7 separate regions of the Homo sapiens genome follow, and all the other regions are linked to region 6. Evidence: promoter capture Hi-C in 16 types of primary human blood cells and fetal thymus (Javierre and others, 2016). All regions are on one chromosome and are shown on one strand. The core of a region is centred on a gene start or on the middle of the fragment in contact, and the rest is flanking DNA. Distances in the headings are between cores, read along the strand shown.

Evidence for each region. The method cuts DNA at HindIII sites, captures the fragments that hold promoters and counts their contacts. A CHiCAGO score of 5 or more calls a contact.
Region 1: a fragment that was not itself captured here is called in contact with the fragment with the promoter of DNAJC8 in region 6 in 1 of 17 cell types (M2 macrophages); the score reaches 7.6 in M2 macrophages.
Region 2: a fragment that was not itself captured here is called in contact with the fragment with the promoter of DNAJC8 in region 6 in 3 of 17 cell types (M0 macrophages, M2 macrophages and M1 macrophages); the score reaches 7.1 in M0 macrophages.
Region 3: a contact is called between the fragment with the promoter of PPP1R8 here and the fragment with the promoter of DNAJC8 in region 6, in 2 of 17 cell types (M2 macrophages and M0 macrophages). The highest score is 9.5, in M2 macrophages.
Region 4: a contact is called between the fragment with the promoter of XKR8 here and the fragment with the promoter of DNAJC8 in region 6, in 2 of 17 cell types (neutrophils and endothelial precursors). The highest score is 9.4, in neutrophils.
Region 5: a contact is called between a fragment that was not itself captured here and the fragment with the promoter of DNAJC8 in region 6, in 6 of 17 cell types (M0 macrophages, naive CD4 T cells, M2 macrophages and 3 more). The highest score is 8.5, in M0 macrophages.
Region 7: a contact is called between the fragment with the promoter of THEMIS2 here and the fragment with the promoter of DNAJC8 in region 6, in 3 of 17 cell types (neutrophils, megakaryocytes and endothelial precursors). The highest score is 7.3, in neutrophils.

Annotation. Positions count from the first base shown.
Region 1 is chr1:27,760,384-27,763,083 of GRCh38, forward strand. FAM76A (family with sequence similarity 76 member A) reads left to right here. Exons shown (of 9, transcript NM_152660.3): 9 at 112-2,700. The coding sequence ends at 198. Among named protein-coding and RNA genes, the nearest start is that of STX12, 11 kb to the right of the region's middle. The HindIII fragment of the contact is 2,005 bases long and covers 284-2,288 here.
Region 2 is chr1:27,805,947-27,808,646 of GRCh38, forward strand. All of the region lies in intron 4 of STX12 (syntaxin 12), which reads left to right. Among named protein-coding and RNA genes, the nearest start is that of PPP1R8, 23 kb to the right of the region's middle. RefSeq lists an enhancer at 1,245-1,768. The HindIII fragment of the contact is 1,929 bases long and covers 387-2,315 here.
Region 3 is chr1:27,829,389-27,832,088 of GRCh38, forward strand. PPP1R8 (protein phosphatase 1 regulatory subunit 8) reads left to right here and starts at 1,394. Exons shown (of 7, transcript NM_014110.5): 1 at 1,394-1,503. The coding sequence starts at 1,448. It overlaps LOC124903885 (a long non-coding RNA gene), which reads right to left and starts at 2,395. Exons shown (of 2, transcript XR_007065562.1): 1 at 1,361-2,395. RefSeq lists enhancers at 873-1,658, 1,532-1,701, 1,659-2,443 and a silencer at 1,322-1,401. The HindIII fragment of the contact is 9,216 bases long and covers 1-2,700 here.
Region 4 is chr1:27,958,624-27,961,323 of GRCh38, forward strand. It overlaps XKR8 (XK related 8), which reads left to right and starts at 1,350. Exons shown (of 3, transcript NM_018053.4): 1 at 1,350-1,739. The coding sequence starts at 1,447. It overlaps SMPDL3B (sphingomyelin phosphodiesterase acid like 3B), which reads left to right. Exons shown (of 8, transcript NM_014474.4): 8 at 1-529. The coding sequence ends at 215. RefSeq lists a silencer at 1,221-1,610 and an enhancer at 1,291-1,854. The HindIII fragment of the contact is 19,385 bases long and covers 1-2,700 here.
Region 5 is chr1:27,852,938-27,855,637 of GRCh38, forward strand. No RefSeq gene overlaps it. Among named protein-coding and RNA genes, the nearest start is that of THEMIS2, 18 kb to the right of the region's middle. The HindIII fragment of the contact is 5,873 bases long and covers 1-2,700 here.
Region 6 is chr1:28,231,752-28,234,451 of GRCh38, forward strand. DNAJC8 (DnaJ heat shock protein family (Hsp40) member C8) reads right to left here and starts at 1,278. Exons shown (of 9, transcript NM_014280.3): 1 at 1,170-1,278. The coding sequence starts at 1,247. RefSeq lists an enhancer at 968-1,501. The HindIII fragment of the contact is 12,029 bases long and covers 1-2,700 here.
Region 7 is chr1:27,871,215-27,873,914 of GRCh38, forward strand. THEMIS2 (thymocyte selection associated family member 2) reads left to right here and starts at 1,330. Exons shown (of 6, transcript NM_001105556.3): 1 at 1,330-1,451. The coding sequence starts at 1,358. RefSeq lists a silencer at 1,178-1,447. The HindIII fragment of the contact is 18,992 bases long and covers 1-2,700 here.

The sequences.
Region 1 (2,700 bases), core at 36-2,535, 470 kb before region 6:
TCTTTCTGACCCTCCACATTGTCTGCCTTAGCATCTGCACTTACTCTGCATGAAAAATAGCTTATATCCTGTTTGAAACATCCTTCTTGCACTGATTTTTTTTTTCTTTAGGCCAAAAACCGAGAGCTCCTGAAGCAGGCAGCTGCTTTGTCCAAGAGCAAGAAGTCAGAGAAGTCAGGAGCTATAACCTCTCCATGACAGACCTCAAGGAGGCTCCCTAGCAACAGCAAATGGAGTTGTCCAGGGTTAGGGTTGGAGACCTGGCTGTTCTGTGGGAATTGCAAGCTTTCTTAAGAAATCTCTATTTTATTACAGTTATCCTTCTTTGTGCGATTGCAGTGGGCTGAATGGAAACACCTGGTTTGTGCTGTGTTAGACTGCATGCTTGAGTGTTTGGGATTTCAAGCTCGCTCTCTTTCTCTCACTATTAGGACTTTTCTTTTTCTTCTTCCTCTTCTCTCTATTTTGGTTCTATTCTTTTTTTTTCTTTTTTCTTTTTTTTTTTTTTTTTTTTTTTGTGGTGGTCACTGCTCAGTGTAATGTGCAGAATGATTTGTTTTTTGTTTTTTTTTTTTTTTTTGGTCCTTCATTGCATCCTGCCATACCCATGAGCAAACAGTTTGGCATTAATTATATATCACTGCCACCCTCTGAACTTTGAAAACTGCCATCTTCAGACTTGGTATAATGGAAGAGGCTTTCTCTCTCCAATAAACCTTTTGCTTCAGGGTATACTCTTCGGTTTTTTTCCAGATGTATTATGTATGAACTTTGTACTATGTATAGCCAGAGTTTTATTTATTTTTTAAAAAAGAAACTTTTTCTTGATAAAGGAATAATGGTGGTCTAGCTAGTTCTTGTAAAAGTGATGCCTCTTGAAAAAAAAACAGTCCTATTCACTAGCTTTTAGTAAAAGAATCAGATCTTTTCTTTCTTGTTACCTTGGAGTCTTAAAAACTGATTGCTAAGGTGAAACAATTCAATGCATAAGTATGGAGCTAAGTGCCTTTTGGAGGATTTCTTGGAAGAGCATTTATGGAGATACTTAAGGGAGGTAGCAAAGATTTGAACCGTCTGTCTTTTTAAGTAAGGGCAGAAAGCAAGGTTGTCCAGGTTGTACTGGACACTTCTCTCCCCACCCCTTTCCTGATTGTTTTATGTGATTGATTTTAAATTCTCACACTGCCACTTCTTTAAAAAATAAAATCCTTTATTTGCTTATATCAGTTGTCATACTGGGCTGCTGTCAGAGAATGTTTTTTTACATGAATGAACAGATTAAAAATGGAATAATATGGTCGGGTGCGGTGGCTCACGCCTGTAATACCAGCAATTTGGGAGGCCAAGGCGGGTGGATCATTTGAGGTTAGGAGTTTGAGACCATCCTGGCCAACATGGTAAAACCCCATCTGTACTAAAAAAATACAAAAATTAGCCGGGCCTGGTGGCATGCACCTGTAATCCCAGCTACCCAGGAGGCTGAGGCAGGAGAACTGCTCGAATCCCGGGAGGCAGAGGTTGCAATGAGCTGAAATCGCAACACTGCACTGCAGCCTGGGCAATGGAGTGAGACTCCGTCTCAAAAAAAAAAAAAAAAGGAATAATATTTGAACTACAGAGCATTTTTGGGGTCAGCATGAGCTGCTCTAGTAAGGACTCTTGAGTCTGGGAAAAGTGGTATCACTATACCTTCTCCCCACTCCTCACCCACCCGAGCCCATACACTCCCTGCTTTTCATGGATATGTATTGAAAACAGGTGCTTCTCAGAAGCACTTTGCCTCAACCAGAGTTATGTATGCCCTGCCTATCTTCCCTTCTTAACCCTGTAGGAATATGGATTTACTTTTCCAGGAAAGGGGATAGATTTACATTTCTAGGCATACTCTCAGGTCCTCTATGTGATGTTTGTGAAAGGAATTAGGGTGTGTCATGTGTGCCATGAAACAACAAAACCAACTACCCTAGAATCATTTATGCAGGGGGTACTAGAGTTAGAAATAATAATGAGGGCAGATAACATTTGTACCTCAGTCTACCAAAAAATTATAGTACTAAATTTAACTTCTAGGCGTTTCCTGGAAGCAGATGCTCTATAATTTGTGATAGCATTCTCATAAATGGAGTCCTACACATAATTGGACAGAGATGTGGAAATGGTGGTTTCCTTCTGATAAGGGATACAGTGGACCATGTCGCTTATATATCACCCTACTAGGGGATATAATTTTCCCTTCTAAGCAAGGGAAATGGCAGTGCTAAATAGTTTTGTAAAGTTTTTGAATGAGAAGCTTTTAGGTAAAGATAAACTGTCATAATATTTTTCAGATGCATTTGCATTGACTATGGGAGAAAAATTAGGGGGAAATGACAGTCATGGTGTTTTTTTTTAATTTTAAGGACTGAAATTCTGTTACATGATGTATGACAATATAAAAACATACTTAGTTTTATACTAAATCTTTTTTTAAGGTCTTGGCATTTAATATAAAGCAAATTCACACGTTTTCTAACTTTCCATAAGTTCCAAAAAGGGAAAGAAGAAACCTCAGTCTTGAAATTTTGATTTTTAAAAATCATGACACTGTTTTACCATGAAATTGAGTAGCTAACTTTTGGTAACACCTTTTGTTTCTTTGTATGTTTGTAATAATGGACATTTTAAAACACAGGAATGTTTTGGTTTGTACAGACTTTGACA
Region 2 (2,700 bases), core at 101-2,600, 430 kb before region 6:
CTGTTGGTCTATATTATACTTTGATTGGATCTTTTATCCATGCATGATTTTTATAGCATCATGTATTTATCATTTGGATAGTATTGGTTCCCTGAGTTATGCAGCTCTTCCAAATGTCGATACATTTCATTTTACAATATAAAAAAATACATATTTCCATCAGTTTCACCAGAAAAGTATTTAAATATTGGGAAACTCTTACAATGGTAGATACAAGTCTTCCGAAATTTTATTTTTATTTTTACTTGAAAGCTACATTTTTGTCATTGGCAACAAACACCCTCTGTTGTTTTCCTTGAAGTGACAGGCTCATACTTCTTTTCAACAAGTTGTCTGCCAAATACCCATCTGAAAAGTTTATATGTATACGTTTATGAAAGTTTTAAAGCTTTTAAATAAGTTTTTAGTAAGTTCTTATAAAACTATATTGAATAAGTAAAAATGGTATTCCCTAAAAAAAGTGGCTAGTTCAGCCTGCAGTTCCATTACACAAGTGCTTTTCCTAGAGACAGACATTGTATTTCTTTATGCAGCAGAAGTACTTTATGTGCACTTCCCATTTCACAATACAGAATAGTAGAAAGATATGTATTGAGGGGTCAAGGTTTAATTAATAATTTGTATGGCTTCAAGAATACATTGGCTTTTAAAATACGGTGAGTGTGTGGTGATGAAGAATACAATAATACTAGTGCAATTCGGTGCCACTGCCTTCAGCCATTTTATCTATCTGTATTAGTCCATTTTCACACTGCTATAAAGATACTACCTGAGACTGGATACTTTATAAATAAAAGAGGTTTAATTGACTCACAGTTCTGCGTGGCTGGATAGGCCTCAGGAAACTTACAACCATGGTAGAAAGCTAAGGGGAGGCAAGGCATGTCTTACATGGTGGCAGGAGAAAGAGAAAGAGAGTGCAGGGGAAATACCAGACACTTACCAAACAACCGGATCTCATGAGAACTCCCTCACTAACACGTGAACACTAACACCCCCATGATCCAATCACTTCCCACCAGGTCCCTCCCTTCGCACGTTGGGATTACAATTCGAGACGAGATTTGAGTGGGGACATAGAGCCAAACCATATCACTACCATTGCCTTTTTTTAATTTTTAATTTTTGTGGGCACATGGTAGGTGTATATATTTATGAGGTACATGAGATACTTTCATATAGTCATGTAATGTGTAATAATTACACCATGGTAAATGGGGTGTCTATCCCCTCAAGCATTTATCCTTTATGTTACAGACAATTCAATTATACTCTTTTAGTTATTTTTGAATATATAATTAAATTATTATTGACGATAGTCACCCATTTGTGCTATCAAATACTAGGTCCTATTCATTCTTCCTATTTTTTGTGCCCATTAACCATCCCCACTTCCCCGCCACCAGTCCCCCACCATTGCTTTTGCTCCGTCCTGTTGATATTTACACTCATGGAGCAAATAAACACGTTAGTATTATTTTGAGTAATGGTCAAACAAATGAAAAGGTACTCAGCTTCTTTAGTAATGGTGAAATTACAGATTAAAATAACAATGAAATACTATTTCATGCCCACCAGGAGGGCAGAAGTTTAAAATTCTGTGAACACTGGGAGTTGTCATTATGGATATGATGCAACAGGAACTTTTTTATCTGGCCGGTGGTATAAGTTAGAACAACTACTTTGGAAAACATTTTGGCTGTATCTTCAGAACACATGCAGACCTTGTGATCCAGCAATTCTACCCTAGAGAAACCTGTATGTGTTATACCAGGATGTATGTACAAGAATGTGCATAGCAGCATTGTTTGTAGTAGTCAAAAATTGGAAACATCCAGATGTCTGTCAACTGTAGAATGGATAAATTGTGTTATGTTCATATACTATAATATCATACAGCAAAGAAAATGATTGAACCACAGTTACATTCAGTATCAGAGATGGATCTGGCATAATCTGGAATGATTCAAAAAAAGCACTAAAGAATATAAACAGTATAATTCCATTTATGTAAAGTTCAAAAACAGGCAAAATGATATTGAATAAGAATATAGCTCACTATTCTTAAAATGCAAGAAAATGATTTTCACAAAGTCAAGATAATAGATACTTTAAAAGGGAGGGATGGAGTTGTGATTGGAGAAGGGCACATGAGTAGGCTTTTAGGACTCTGGCAATGTTATTTCTTGATCTGGGGAAAAAGATAAAGTAAAAAGAAAAAAACAAACCAAAAACCCACAGTGTTCCTCTGAGTGGATAGAAATTTGAAATTCTTTTCATTTTGCTTGTCCTGTATTGCTATTATAAAAAGGGTAAGCTTTTTAAAAATGAAAATACATTGATTTTTACCATTTTTGCTTTGTTTTTTATTTATTTATTTATTTATTTATTTATTTATTTATTTATTTATTCTGAGAGGGAGTCTCACTCTGTCACTCAGGCTGTAGTGCAGTGGCACGATCTTGGCTCACTGCAACCTCTGCCTTCTAGGTTCAAGCAATTCTCCTGCCTTAGCCTCTCGAGTAGCTGGGATTACAGGCACCCACCACCATGCCTGGCTAATTTTTGTATTTTAGTAGAGACGGGGTTTCACCATGTTGGCCAGGCTGGTCACAAACTCCTGACCTCAAAGTGATCTGCCCACCTCGGCCTCTCAAAGTGCTGGGATTGGGATTACAGGCATGAGCCACCGCACCCAGC
Region 3 (2,700 bases), core at 144-2,643, 400 kb before region 6:
AAGAAGTAGACATGGGAGACTTTTCATTTTGTTCTGTACTAAGAAAAATTCTTCTGCCTTGGGATCCTGTTGATCTATGACCTTACCCCCAACCCTGTGCTCTCTCCACTCAGGGTTAAATGGATAAAGGGCAGTGCAAGATGTGCTTTGTTAAACAGATGCTTGAAGGCAGCATGCTCATTAAGAGTCATCACCACTCCCTAATCTCAAGTACCCAGGGACACAAACACTGCGGAAGGCCACAGGGTCCTCTGCCTAGGAAAACCAGAGACCTTTGTTCACTTGTTTATCTGCTGACCTTCCCTCCACTATTGTCCTATGACCCTGCCAAATCCCCCTCTGCGAGAAACACCCAAGAATGATCAATAAAAAAATAAAAAATAAAAAACCAGAGGCCCTGCTAATGGTCTCTTAAAACCAGCTGGTGATCTAGGGCAAGCGAGCAATCCTTATGCTTCCTTGCCCTATAACCAAAAGCAAAAAATCCTTTTTAAAAAAATTAACCATTTGAGCCAAGCACAGTGATGATTTGGACCCCTGCTTTCTGACTGGACCTGCTCCTGGCTCCTGCTTGTCCAGAGTTTTCATAAACAGACTAGGTGACCCCTAATGCAGATTCCCTGACAATCTACAGGCCTAAACGTGAATTAGAAAAAAGTGAGTAGGGTGCCACTTTTTGGAGAAGGGCTGAAGAGAAACAATAATCACTCCAATCTCCGAGTTTTGCCCTTTAGCTTCTCCGCTTTGAGGGCAAAAGGCTGACGGTCTTAACCTAAACTCTGGAGGAGGATGTAGTCCCCAGATTTTTTCTTTCTTTACTTTTTTTTTTTTTTTTTTTGAGACGGAGTCTCGCTCTGTTGCCCAGGCTGGAGTGCAATGGCGCGATCTCGGCTCACTGCAACCTCTGCCTCCCGAGTGCAAGCGATTCTCCTGCCTTAGCCTCCCAAGTAGCTGGGATTACAGGCATGTGCCACTACACTCGACTAATTTTTGTATTTTTAGTAGAGACGGGGTTTCACCATGTTGGTCAGGCTGGTCTCAAACTCCCGACCTCAAGTGATCCGCCCGCCTCAGCCTCCGAAAGTGCTGGGATTACAGACGTGAGCCATCGCGCACGGCTTAGTCCCAAGATTTTAGAGCCAAGAAGCGTTTGCAGGAGGACGTAGGGAAAGACTGACTCCCCTCCCTACAAAGCCCCTTTTCCTTTGACACCTCCTGGCCAAGGAAAACCCTAACCACTGGAGACTTCCAGAGACGGCCAACTCGCACAAACGCTGAAAAAAAAAAAATCCCAAAAGCTCCTCTGTCCCCACTAGAAGCACCGCCCCCCGTACGGGCGTGCGTGAGCGTGCGTACGCACAGGCTGCTGGGATGCCGCTTTTCCCTTCTCGGTCTTCCAGTTTCCCGGCGTGCTTAGGGCGCGCCAAATGGGAGGGGGAGACGCAAGATGGCGGCAGCCGCGAACTCCGGCTCTAGCCTCCCGCTGTTCGACTGCCCAACCTGGTGAGTGGCGGGGCGGCCAGGGCTAGAGTGGCCCGGCCGGAGCTAGCCTGGGCTGGAAGGGCGGCTCTTTTTTTACTTTTCTGCTGCGAGCCGAACGGCTCAGAAACCCCGGAATGGTTGAGGAAAAACTGTTTGCTGCACCGGGCCGGGCGACGTGTTGAAGAACCGAGAGCCTGGAGCCCAGGCCCAGGAACTGAAGAAACCCGGGGTTGGGGGCTCAAAGGCGCTCACTTAGGCAGCCCCTTTGAGCGATTAGCCAGTCGCCGGAGCGCTTCGAGGCCTTGGCCCGAACTTACGCCCAACTCTTGACTGAGTGCCTGGTGCTCTCGTGGAGCATCGCATCTGGCCCCTTCCTGTACGTCCCGAGCGCGCTCGAGCCAGCCCCGGCCCCAACCCTACCTCCAAGCCCCGCATCCCTCTGTGGTTGCTGCATCCCTCGTGCGGCACTTGTCTGTCTGCCACAGAGAATACGAGGGTAGGTTAGCGCCATCCCTGCCCTCAGGGAGCTCCCAGTCTGTGGCACTAGTAGGCATTAGTAATGGTTGGCATGAACCCTTTTTATCCCTTCGAAAGTTCTTGGGAATAATGAAATAATTTAATTTGGTCTTTGAGTAGGGTACAAGTTGAATAAATATGAATTACCTTACAAGGAAACGCTTCTGAATTAAGAGTTTTTTTCTGCTGTAGCTCATCGCAGTGTATTGTTTGTTGCTTGTCTCTGTCTCCCGTTGTATTGCCATCCTCAAGGGCAAAGACTGCATCTTTGTATTCCCAGCTCCTAGGCCTGAGTCAGGCACATAGTAGGAATTCAGAAAGTATGTTTTGGATGTAACATTCCTCCTTTTTCCTGGACAAAATGGCCTTTTGTCCGGTGCATTGTCCTTTCCATAGAGGAGGGGTTGGGGCAGGATTGTGAGATGACTGTGTTGAATCTTCAGTTAGCTAGACAAGGATACGTTTTTTCATGTGCAAATCTAAAGGTTCTAGTGAGGTGGTTCTTTTTTCTAACTTCAAATTAGCAAACCCAAAAAGCAAGCAAATGTGTGGCTATTTTCTGGATCGCTTTGCACTTTTGTAGTAGTTGCTTCAGTCTACAAATTCTGTATCCATTTTGATCCCTCGCTGTATTGATTTCAAATTTGGGCCGAGATAGCAAACATAGTTAGAAAGCACTGTTTTTGAGATCACCTACCCTTT
Region 4 (2,700 bases), core at 100-2,599, 270 kb before region 6:
ACCAGAGCACACTGCAGCGCTACTACGTCTATAACTCAGTCAGCTACTCTGCTGGGGTCTGCGACGAGGCCTGCAGCATGCAGCACGTGTGTGCCATGCGCCAGGTGGACATTGACGCTTACACCACCTGTCTGTATGCCTCTGGCACCACGCCCGTGCCCCAGCTCCCGCTGCTGCTGATGGCCCTGCTGGGCCTGTGCACGCTCGTGCTGTGACCTGCCAGGCTCACCTTCTTCCTGGTAACGGGTAACGGGGGCAGCGCCCAGGATCACCCAGAGCTGGGCCTTCCACCATTTCCTCCGCGCCTGAGGAGTGAACTGAAATAGGACAACCGAATCAGGAAGCGAAGCCCCAGGAGCTGCAGCCATCCGTGATCGCGCCACTGCACTCCAGCCTGGGTGACAAAGCCAGACTCTCTCCAAAAACAAACCAGAAACAGAAAAGAAATGACGACCCAAGACCCCCCTACAAGCATACTTCTTTTGCGTATTATGTTTAACTCACAAAACAAAGCTCATCATGCGTTTGATTCTGTGTTGTGTTCCTTTTCTTTTCTTTTGAGACGGAGTCTCGCTCTGTCGCCCAGGCCGGAGTGCAGTGGCGCTATCTCGGCTCTCTGCAACCTCTGCCTCCCGGGTTCAAGCGATTCTCCTGCCTCAGCCTCCTAGCTGGGACTACAGGCGCGCGCCAACACGCCCGACTAATTTGTATTTTTAGTAGAGACGGGGTTTCGCCATGTTTGCCAGGCTGGTCTCGAACTCCTGACCTCAGGTGATCCGCCCGCCTGGGCCTCCCAAAGTGTTGGGATTACAGGCGTGAGTCACCGCGCCCGGCCTCTATTCCCTTCCGTATGGAAATGAGGTTAACTCATTTGCAGGAACCTAACGCCCGCCCTCCCCCGACTCGGATCGCTGGCGTGAACCCAGCGGCCCCGTGCTCTCCGGGTATCCCTGGATCGAGGCGCACGCGTTGTTGCAAAGTCTCGCACTTAGGGATTAGAATGTGCCTTTGCGTTTCGTTTTGTTTTGCAACAATACAGGTGTGAGGGATCGCAGCCCTGGTCCAGGCTCTAGTCTCCCCGCCCTCTCGCTTTCTTGGGCCTCCGGGCGCCTCAAAGGTAAAACTAGGCCATTTGAAGCCTGCGAAGCGAAGGGCAGTCGGTCTTCAGGCCTAGCGGGCTTGGCTGGGCTGGGTCGGTGGACCCCTGGGCTGGCGGCGGGAGCAGAGCATCGAGCGGCTTTTAGCTGGGGTTCGGGCGGAGGACCTGGGACAACCGCGGGCCTCGCTCCTCCCCGGACGGGGCGGGACGGGGAAGTCCCGCCCACCAGGCCCAGGCCCCGGGCCGCCCCGAGGGCTGCGCCCACCTCCTTCCTGCCTCGGCAACCCCGGGCCCTGAGGGCAGGCCCCAACCGCGGAGGAGCAGGAGAGGGCGGAGGCCGGCGGGCCATGCCCTGGTCGTCCCGCGGCGCCCTCCTTCGGGACCTGGTCCTGGGCGTGCTGGGCACCGCCGCCTTCCTGCTCGACCTGGGCACCGACCTGTGGGCCGCCGTCCAGTATGCGCTCGGCGGCCGCTACCTGTGGGCGGCGCTGGTGCTGGCGCTGCTGGGCCTGGCCTCCGTGGCGCTGCAGCTCTTCAGCTGGCTCTGGCTGCGCGCTGACCCTGCCGGCCTGCACGGGTCGCAGCCCCCGCGCCGCTGCCTGGCGCTGCTGCATCTCCTGCAGCTGGGTTACCTGTACAGGTGAGTGCTTCGCCCCGGGAGGGGAGGAGTGTCGGAGCCCAGCACCTCCGTCAGCTGGGTCACCTGTACAGGTGACACGCCATATGCCGGGAAGGGGACTGGGAGAGGGAACCAAGTCCTGTGGGCGCCTGGCCTACAGGTGAGCGTGCAGCCCTTTACGGAAAGGGAATCCCGGTAGACTGCCTTCATTCTAGCCCTAGCTTTCCTGGCACAGGCGAAGAAACTGAGGCCCAGGGAAGAAAGGGAGGCGCATGGGCTTTGAAGTCGGACCTCTCAGGGATCCACTTCTGGCTTTGCCCCCTCTCGCCTCACTTCTGCATTTCTCTGAGCCTCAGTTTCCTCCTGCGTAGAAAGGAGGTAGTCACCCTGAGACAGGTGTGACGGGCAGGCCTGTTGTGAAGAGTGAGCGAAAGAATGAGAAAGTGCCTCGCACAGTGCCTGGCCTGTAATGGCAGGGGCTGCGGACTCAGTTCAGCATCCCATGTTTCAGCATGGGCAGGGCCTTGGGAAGTCACTGACCTCTCAGTGGGGCTGTTTGGTTGCTGTTCCCATTGGGATGGGGATAGCGCCTGCCCGTTTGGTGAAGATGCAGTGAAATGACATCTGTCCACTGCCCTGGCTCAGAGTGAGCACTCAGCAACCTCAGCTGGCTTCTTGACCTGGGCCTCCCTGGGAGTTTCAGCAGCCCTGACCCCACCACAGCGCTTGCCCCTCACAAAGGCCGCCTCTCACCCTGTCTGCCTGGTTGTATTCTTCCCCCTGAAACTTGGCTTCCCACCCCAGACCCAGCAAGAGGGCAGAGATGGCCTCTGACTCATCCATGCCCATGGAGCCAGCCAGGGCTGGGCATAGGCTGGGTCCTGGAAAATGTGTGTGGATTCTGCTCCTTTTTGGACCTGGTGGAGCCTCGTAGAGATGGGAAAACAAACCCAAGGCTCAGAGGCATGCGACAAAGTCAGGG
Region 5 (2,700 bases), core at 169-2,668, 380 kb before region 6:
GCCCGGCAGCCACCCCGTCTGGGAGGGAGGTGGGGGGGGTCAGCCCCCCGCCCGGCCAGCCGCCTCATCCGGGAGGGAGGTGGGGGGTCAGCCCCCCCGCCCGGCCAGCCGTGCCGTCCAGGAGGGAGGTGGGGGGGTCAGCCCCCCGCCCGGCCAGCCGCCCCGTCCGGGAGGTGAGGGGCGCCTCTGCCCGGCCGCCCCTACTGGGAAGTGAGGAGCCCCTCAGCCCGGCCAGCCACCCCGTCCGGGAGGGAGATGGGGGGGTCAGCCCCCCCACCCGGCCAGCCGCCCCGTCCGGGAGGGAGGTGGGGGGGTCAGCCCCCCGCCTGGCCAGCCGCCCCGTCCAGGAGGGAGGTGGGGGGGTCAGCGCCCCGCCCGGCCAGCCGCCCCGTCTGGGAGGTGAGGGGTGCCTCTGCCCGGCCGCCCCTACTGGGAAGTGAGGAGCCCCTCTGCCCGGCCAGCCGCCCCATCCGGGAGGGAGGTGGGGGGGTCAGCCCCCCCGCCCGGCCAGCCGCCCTGTCCGGGAGGGAGGTGGGGGGGTCAGCCCTCCGCCCGGCCAGCCGCCCCGTCTGGGAGTTGAGGGGCGCCTCTGCCCGGCCGCCCCTACTGGGAAGTGAGGAGCCCCTCTGCCCGGCCAGCCGCCCCGTCCGGGAGGGAGGTGGGGGGGTCGGCCCCCCGCCCGGCCAGCCGCCCCATCCGGGAGGGAGGTGGGGGGGTCAGCCCCCCGCCCGGCCAGCTGCCCTGTCCAGGAGGGAGGTGGGGGTGTCAGCCCCACGCCCGGCCAGCCGCCTCGTCCGGGAGGGAGGTGGGGGGGTCAGCCCCACGCCCGGCCAGCCGCCTCGTCCGGGAGGGAGGTGGGGGGGTCAGCCCCCCCGCCCGGCCAGCCGCCCTGTCCGGGAGGGAGGTGGGGGGGTCAGCCCCACGCCCGGCCAGCCGCCTCGTCCGGGAGGGAGGTGGGGGGGTCAGCCCCCCCGCCCGGCCAGCCGCCTCGTCCGGGAGGGAGGTGGGGGGGTCAGCCCCACGCCCGGCCAGCCGCCTCGTCCGGGAGGGAGGTGGGGGGGTCAGCCCCCCCGCCCGGCCAGCCGCCCTGTCCGGGAGGGAGGTGGGGGGGTCAGCCCTCCGCCCGGCCAGCCGCCCCGTCTGGGAGTTGAGGGGCGCCTCTGCCCGGCCGCCCCTACTGGGAAGTGAGGAGCCCCTCTGCCCGGCCAGCCGCCCCGTCCGGGAGGGAGGTGGGGGGGTCGGCCCCCCGCCCGGCCAGCCGCCCCATCCGGGAGGGAGGTGGGGGGGTCAGCCCCCCGCCCGGCCAGCTGCCCTGTCCAGGAGGGAGGTGGGGGTGTCAGCCCCACGCCCGGCCAGCCGCCTCGTCCGGGAGGGAGGTGGGGGGGTCAGCCCCCCACCCAGCCAGCCGCCCCGTCCGGGAGGGAGGTGGGGGGGGTCAGCCCCCCTGCCCGGCCAGTGGCCCCGTCCGGGAGGTGAGGGGCGCCTCTGCCCGGCCGCCCCTACTGGGAAGTGAGGAGCCCCTCTGCCCGGCCAGCCGCCCCGTCCGGGAGGGAGGTGGGGGTGGTCAGCCCCCCCCGCCCGGCCAGCCGCCCCGTCCGGGAGGTGAGGGGCGCCTCTGCCCAGCCACCACCCCGTCTGGGAGGTGTGCCCAACAGCTCATTGAGAACGGGCCAGGATGACAATGGCGGCTTTGTGGAATAGAAAGGCGGGAAAGGCGGGGAAAAGATTGAGAAATCGGATGGTTGCCGTGTCTGTGTAGAAAGAAGTAGACATGGGAGACTTTTCATTTTGTTCTGCACTAAGAAAAATTCCTCTGTCTTGGGATCCTGTTGATCTGTGACCTTACCCCCAACCCTGTGCTCTCTGAAACATGTGCTGTGTCCACTCAGGGTTAAATGGATTAAGGGCGGTGCAAGATGTGCTTTGTTAAACAGATGCTTGAAGGCAGCATGCTCGTTAAGAGTCATCACCAATCCCTAATCTCAAGTAATCAGGGACACAAACACTGCGGAAGGCCGCAGGGTCCTCTGCCTAGGAAAACCAGAGACCTTTGTTCACTTGTTTATCTGCTGACCTTCCCTCCACTATTGTCCCATGACCCTGCCAAATCCCCCTCTGTGAGAAACACCCAAGAATTATCAATAAAAAAATAAATTAAAAAAAAAAAAAAAAAAATGAGTGTCCTCATCAGGACAATACCTTCCTCTCGTTTTAGTGAAGATGGTACTGTTGGTAGTGGTGAACAATCACTAAGCACCTGCCTACCTACCTACCATGTATCCATTTACAGCACGTCATCTAATTCTCATAGCCCCAAGAGGAATTCTGTTTTTATCCCCATTTTATAGATGAGAAAACTGAGACTGAGACTAAACAAACTTCCCTATGAGCCCCCTGTACTGAAGACAGGATTGAAACTCTAGTCTGAATCCAGAGTTTAAGGTGGGGATATGCTTGGTCCATAGGTGGCACACCCTTTAGTTTTTGTATTTTTAGTGGAGACGGGGTTTCACCATGTTGGCCGGGCTGGTCTCGAACTTCGGCCCTCAGGTGATCCAACTGCCTTGGCCTCCCAGAGTGCTGGGATTACAGGCGTGAGCCACCGAGTCTGGCCTGTTTTGTAGTTCTTTAAAAGATGTCCAAACTGAACAACTTACTGGAAGTGTGTTAAAGTATGTTAGATATAGCTGAGATGAAGTC
Region 6 (2,700 bases), core at 28-2,527:
AGGTTAACTGTCTTCCAAGAATTTTTTTCTTTTTTAGACAGTCTCTCGCTCTGTCACCCAAGCTGGAGTGCAGTGGCGCGATCTCTGCTCACTGCAAGCTCTGCCTCCCGGGTTCACGCCATTCTCCTGCCTCAGCCTCCCGAGTGGCTGGGACTACAGGCGCCCACTACCAGGCCCAGCTAATTTTTTGTATTTCTAGTAGAGACGGGGTTTCACCGTGGTCTCGATCTCCTGACCTCGTGATCCGCCCGTCTCGGCCTCCCAAAGTGCTGGGATTACAGGCGTGAGCCACCGCGCCCAACCAAGAATTTTTTTTTCTATCCTTTTTTTCCTTCTTTTTAAAGAGACAGGGTCTCACTCTCGCCAAAAATGGAGTGCAGTGGTCCGATCATAGGTCACTGCAGCCTCGAGCTTTTGGGTTCCTCCCGCCTGGGCCTCCCAAAGTGCTGGGATTACAGATGTGAGCCACTGTGCCCAGCCCCTTGCAATAATTTAATCTGAGATTCTGACTCCAAACGGCATGCTTTTATTTCATTTATTCATTCATTCACTCAACAAATATTTACTGAGCATCCACTACATACTATGCGCTGGAGATGCGATAGTAAAGGAGGCTCAGAACAAGCCCACTGCTGTCCTAACATACCACCAAGCAAGCTGTAACCTACTGTAAGGCCCCAAACTATTTCACCTCCCTAAAGCTCAGGTTCGTCATCTGTAAAATGGGGGTAATATAATGCCTAACTGGCATGATACACAGTGCCTGGCGTTCGTGAATGGCAGAAACAACCACTAAAACAACTCATTACAAAGGACTAAGAAACGTCTCGGGGGCCAAGAAGGCTAAGTCACTCCCAGGAAGGGCCCAGCCTCTGCCAGCCCCCGACTCCGCGGACTTGGGGCACTCTGCCCGCGCGCCCGCACTATGTTGGACACACTCGCCACCTCCCTCGATAGATCGAACACCATTCCCTCTTTCGTTGCCCCGGGGGATCTCCCAGCAGCTATCAGTGGGAGACGCTCACACACCCCCAGACCCCCGCCACCCCGAAGACTGGACTGAAGGAATCGCCCAACGGTCCAGGCCAGGCGGCCACTGCCTTTGTCCACTGGGAAAGCAGATCCGGGAGCGGTCGCCCCGGTGCCACTACTCCTCACTCTGTGTTCACCTCACTGTAGAAGGTCATAAATGCTTCCTCGGTGCTGCCTCCGCCGCCTGAAGTCCCGCTCTCTCCTGAAGCCGCCATTTCCCCGGCCCAGCCACCACGTGACCCTTCTGCGCAGGCGTCGCCTCACGTGATTCTTACAGGTCCGCTCCTCTAGCCCCGCCTCCCGTCTGAGAGGTTCTTAAAGGGCTCGCAGCCCAGCCAGGCACTTTAAAAGTAGGTGGGCTTTTTAAAATTTAAACGAATTACACATAACATATAATTAACCACTTTAAAGTAAATAATGTGCTTAAGTTATTGTTAGGTAAAAAATAATAAGAAGAATAAAAGAAAAAGTGAATAATTCAGTGGGTTTATTTATTTATTTATTTTTGAGACAGGATCTCTGTCGTCCAGGCTGGAGTCGAGTGGTGCAATCACAGCTCACTGCAGCCTCGACCTCCCAAGCTCAAGCGATCCTCTCACTTCAGCCTCCCGAGTAGCTGGGACTGCAGGCGCGCGCCACCATGCCCGGCTAATTTTATGTACTTTTGTGGAGACGGGGTCTTGCCATGTTGCCCAGGCCTCCCAAAGTACAGGAATTACAGGCATGAGCCACCGCGCCGGACCGGCTCAGCTGTCTTCAGAACATTCACAATGTTCTGCAACCACCATGTCTACCTGGTTCCAAAATAGTTTCATCACCTCAAAAGGAGACTTAGTATCTACTTTTTTTTTTTAGACGGAGTCTCACTCTGTCACCCAGGCTGGAGTGCAGTGGCGCCTCCCCGGTTCCAGAAATTCTGCCTTAGCCTCCCGAGTAGCTGAGATTACAGACAAACGCCACCATGCCCCGCTAATTTTTATATTTTTAGTAAAGCCGGATGTTCACCATGTTGGCCAGGATGGTCTACGATCTCCTGACGTCGTAATCCGCTCGCCTTGGCCTCCCAAAGTGCGGGGATTACAGGCGTGAGCCACCGCGCCTGGCCGAGGAGACCTAGTACCTATTAAGCAGTTACTCCCTATTCGCCCCCTCTCCCCAGTCCCTGAAAACAAGCAATCTGTGTTCTATCTATATGGATTTACCTATTCTGGATATTTCACATAAATGGAGTTAAACAATATGTGAATACGTATTTCACATAAATGGAATTAAACAAAATACCAGGTAGGGCTGCTATTTTCTCAACTAAAATATAATCAATAAAGCCAGTTTTACTATTTCATAGAAAACAAAGAAGGTTTTGTTTTGTTTTGTTTTTTTGAGGCAGAGGCTTGCTCTGTTGCCCAGGCTGGAGTGCAGTGGCATGATCTTGGCTCACTGCAACCGCCGCCTCCCAGGTTCAAGCAATTCTCCTGCCTCAACCTCCTGAGTAGCTGAGATTACAGGCGCATGTCACCACGCCCGGCTGATTTTTGTATTTTTAGTAGAGACGGAGTTAGTCAGGCTGATCTCGAACTCCTGACCTCATGATCCATGCGCCTCGGCCTCCCGAAGTGCTGGGATTACAGGTGTGAGACACCACGCCCAGCCCCAAAGAAGGTATTTTTA
Region 7 (2,700 bases), core at 80-2,579, 360 kb before region 6:
TTTTAGTAGAGACAGGGTTTTGCCATATTGGCCAGGCTGGTCTTGAACTCCTGACTTCAGGAGATCTGCCCGCCTCACCCTCCCAAAGTGCTAGGATTATAGGCGTGAGCCACCGCGCCTGGCCTTATTTTATTTTATTCTTTTTTTTAAGAGACAGGGTCTTGCTAGTTTGCCCAGGGTGGTCTAGGACTCCTGGTCTCAAGTGATCCTCCTGCCTCAGTCTCCCAAAGTGCTGGGATTACAGGCCACACCCAGCCTCTTCTCCCTGTTTTTTTGTTTTTGTTTTTGTTTTTTGAGACGGAGTTTTGCTCTTGTTGCCCAAGCTGGAGTGCAATGGTACAATCTCGGCTCACTGCAACCTCTGCCTCCCAGGTTCAAGCGATTCTCCTGCCTCAGCCTCCCGAGTAGCTGGGATTAGAGGTGTGTGCCACCACGTCTGGCTAGGTTTTTTTGTATTTTTAGTAGAAACGGGTTTTCACCATGTTAGTCTGGTCTCAAACTCCTGACCTCAGGTGATCCACCCGCCTCGGCCTCCCAAAGTGCTGGGATTATAGGCGTGAGCCATTGCGCCCGGCCCTCTTCTCCCTGTTTTAGAGAGTAAGAAACTGAGGTTCACACAATCAAAGTGATTTGCCTAACGTCATACAACGAGCAAGAGGAGACCTGGGATTTGAACCTATGTTGGTCTGACTCCTGAGGGACAGGGAAATGGAAAAGGCTTATCCCGAGCCTGTGGGGTCAGGATAAGTGGTTGGTCCGGCTTCTAAGCAGATTTCTCTTTAGCCTTAGGAAGAATTTTTAACTAGAATTGGTGAGGCCCGGCGTGGTGGCTCACAGGTGGATCACACCTGTGATCCCAGCACTTTGGGAGGCCGAGGTGGGAGGATCACTTGAGTCCAGGAGTTCGAGGCCAACGTAGACAATAATTATCGAAAGAGTATGGGAGTTCTGGAGAGGTAATGAGATCCCCTTCACCAGGAGGTTTCCGATAGAGGACCATGGAGTGTCCTGGAGGGACATTCGGGAGCCCTGACACTACATCTCCCTCCTCAAACCCAAAGGGCAGAGGCATGTCCCTCCTATGAGACGCAGAACAAGTCGGGCCGCGTCCCCTTTTTCTAACTGGGAGCACTGCTGAGGGGGCGTCTGGGACTTCTTCATCTTCATCATCGCCCCTTCCCCATAGGGTACTGCAGGGGGCGGGGGGCGGGGCTTCGGCGGGGCGGGGCTGCAGGGCTCCCGCGGGCTGGCGGGGCGGCTTCGGCGTGCGGGGCGGGGCATCGGCGGGGCGGGGCTGCAGGGCTCCCGGGGACCGCCCGCCCGCCCCTCAGTCTGAGCCCAGAGAGCCGCGGGGACCATGGAGCCGGTGCCGCTGCAGGACTTCGTGCGCGCCTTGGACCCCGCCTCCCTCCCGCGCGTGCTGCGGGTCTGCTCGGGGGTCTACTTCGAGGGTGAGCGGGGGCTGGAACCCCTCCGAGCACTCCCTTGGTGTGGGGCGGGGGCAGAGACCCGGAGAAGACGTTAGCAATCCGGGGAAACTGCCCCTGGGTTCAAATCCCGACACTGCCACTGGCCAAGCTGTGTGATTTGGGGCCGCACTCAACCTCTTTGGACCTCGGCTTTTGCTTTCGTGGAACGGGGACCGCTGACCTGCCCCGCAGGGTAGTGATGAAAAGTCAGTGGGTTGAGGCGCGGGAGGTGGATGCAGCCGGGCCACTCCTAGGTGGCCCCGCGGTGCGCATGGGACAGAGCTCCGACCGCGCCGGGACGCAGCATTAGGCCGCTGGTGGTCGTGGCTGCGTCTTGATTCTGAAGTGCAGGGTCAGTCTTCCCGTCTGTGTCCTCCCACTCCTCCCCCGGCCCTCCTCTACACTGCCTTCCTTCAGTCCCTGCGTCCACCTTGGCCTTCTGTTTGACCATGGGCAGTACTTGATTTGATCAGCTCTTCAGTTCTCAGCTTAAATGGCGCTTCCTCCCGGAAGCCTTCCTGGCTCTCTGCTCCTTGCACGCCCCCGTACATCTGCCGTCTGCCCGCAGCGGCCTGGTTCACAGGGATGGGCACACAGCAGGCGCACAGTCACTAGTCATTGCCTGAAGGAGCAAGCGGTGAGGGAATAACAGACAGTGGAGGGCAGGGTAAGACAGCACAGTGGATGGGTGGCCAGTGCTGCTCTGTGGGCAGGGAGGACCCGTGGGCCACCGAGTAGGGGAGATGGAGGTGGAGGAGAGAGATGCTGTGTGGGGGTGCGGGTTCCTTCCTTAGAGAGCGAACTGAGGCTTGAAGGCCCTGCCCCATCCTGTTCCCTGGCTGCAGAAAAACGCTCTGTCGCAGCAGCTTCCAGCAGAGTGTTTGAGGTCCCAAGTGGGGTCCTAGACCAAGGAGGTCCCTCATGAAGGGTCCCGCAGGGGGCCACCACCTCGCAGTGGGTCTCTCCAGGTCTGCTTGGGAATCTGGCAGATCTGGGTTCAAATTCTGACTCTACCTCCAGGGGCTTTCTGCAGGAAGGCGCCTGGGATCTGTTTGCTCTTCCCCCAGCCCAGGACCAAGCGTCTTCGTCCTCCCAGCACCCTTTGCCTGCTGGTGTTACAACACCTGTTTCCTCATCCTGCCTGACGCGGGATGGTGGAAATGGTGGAAGTCAGAGTGATGGTGACTAGAGAAGGCCCTGACAGGGTGTGGGTGTGCGGATGGGGTGAGTG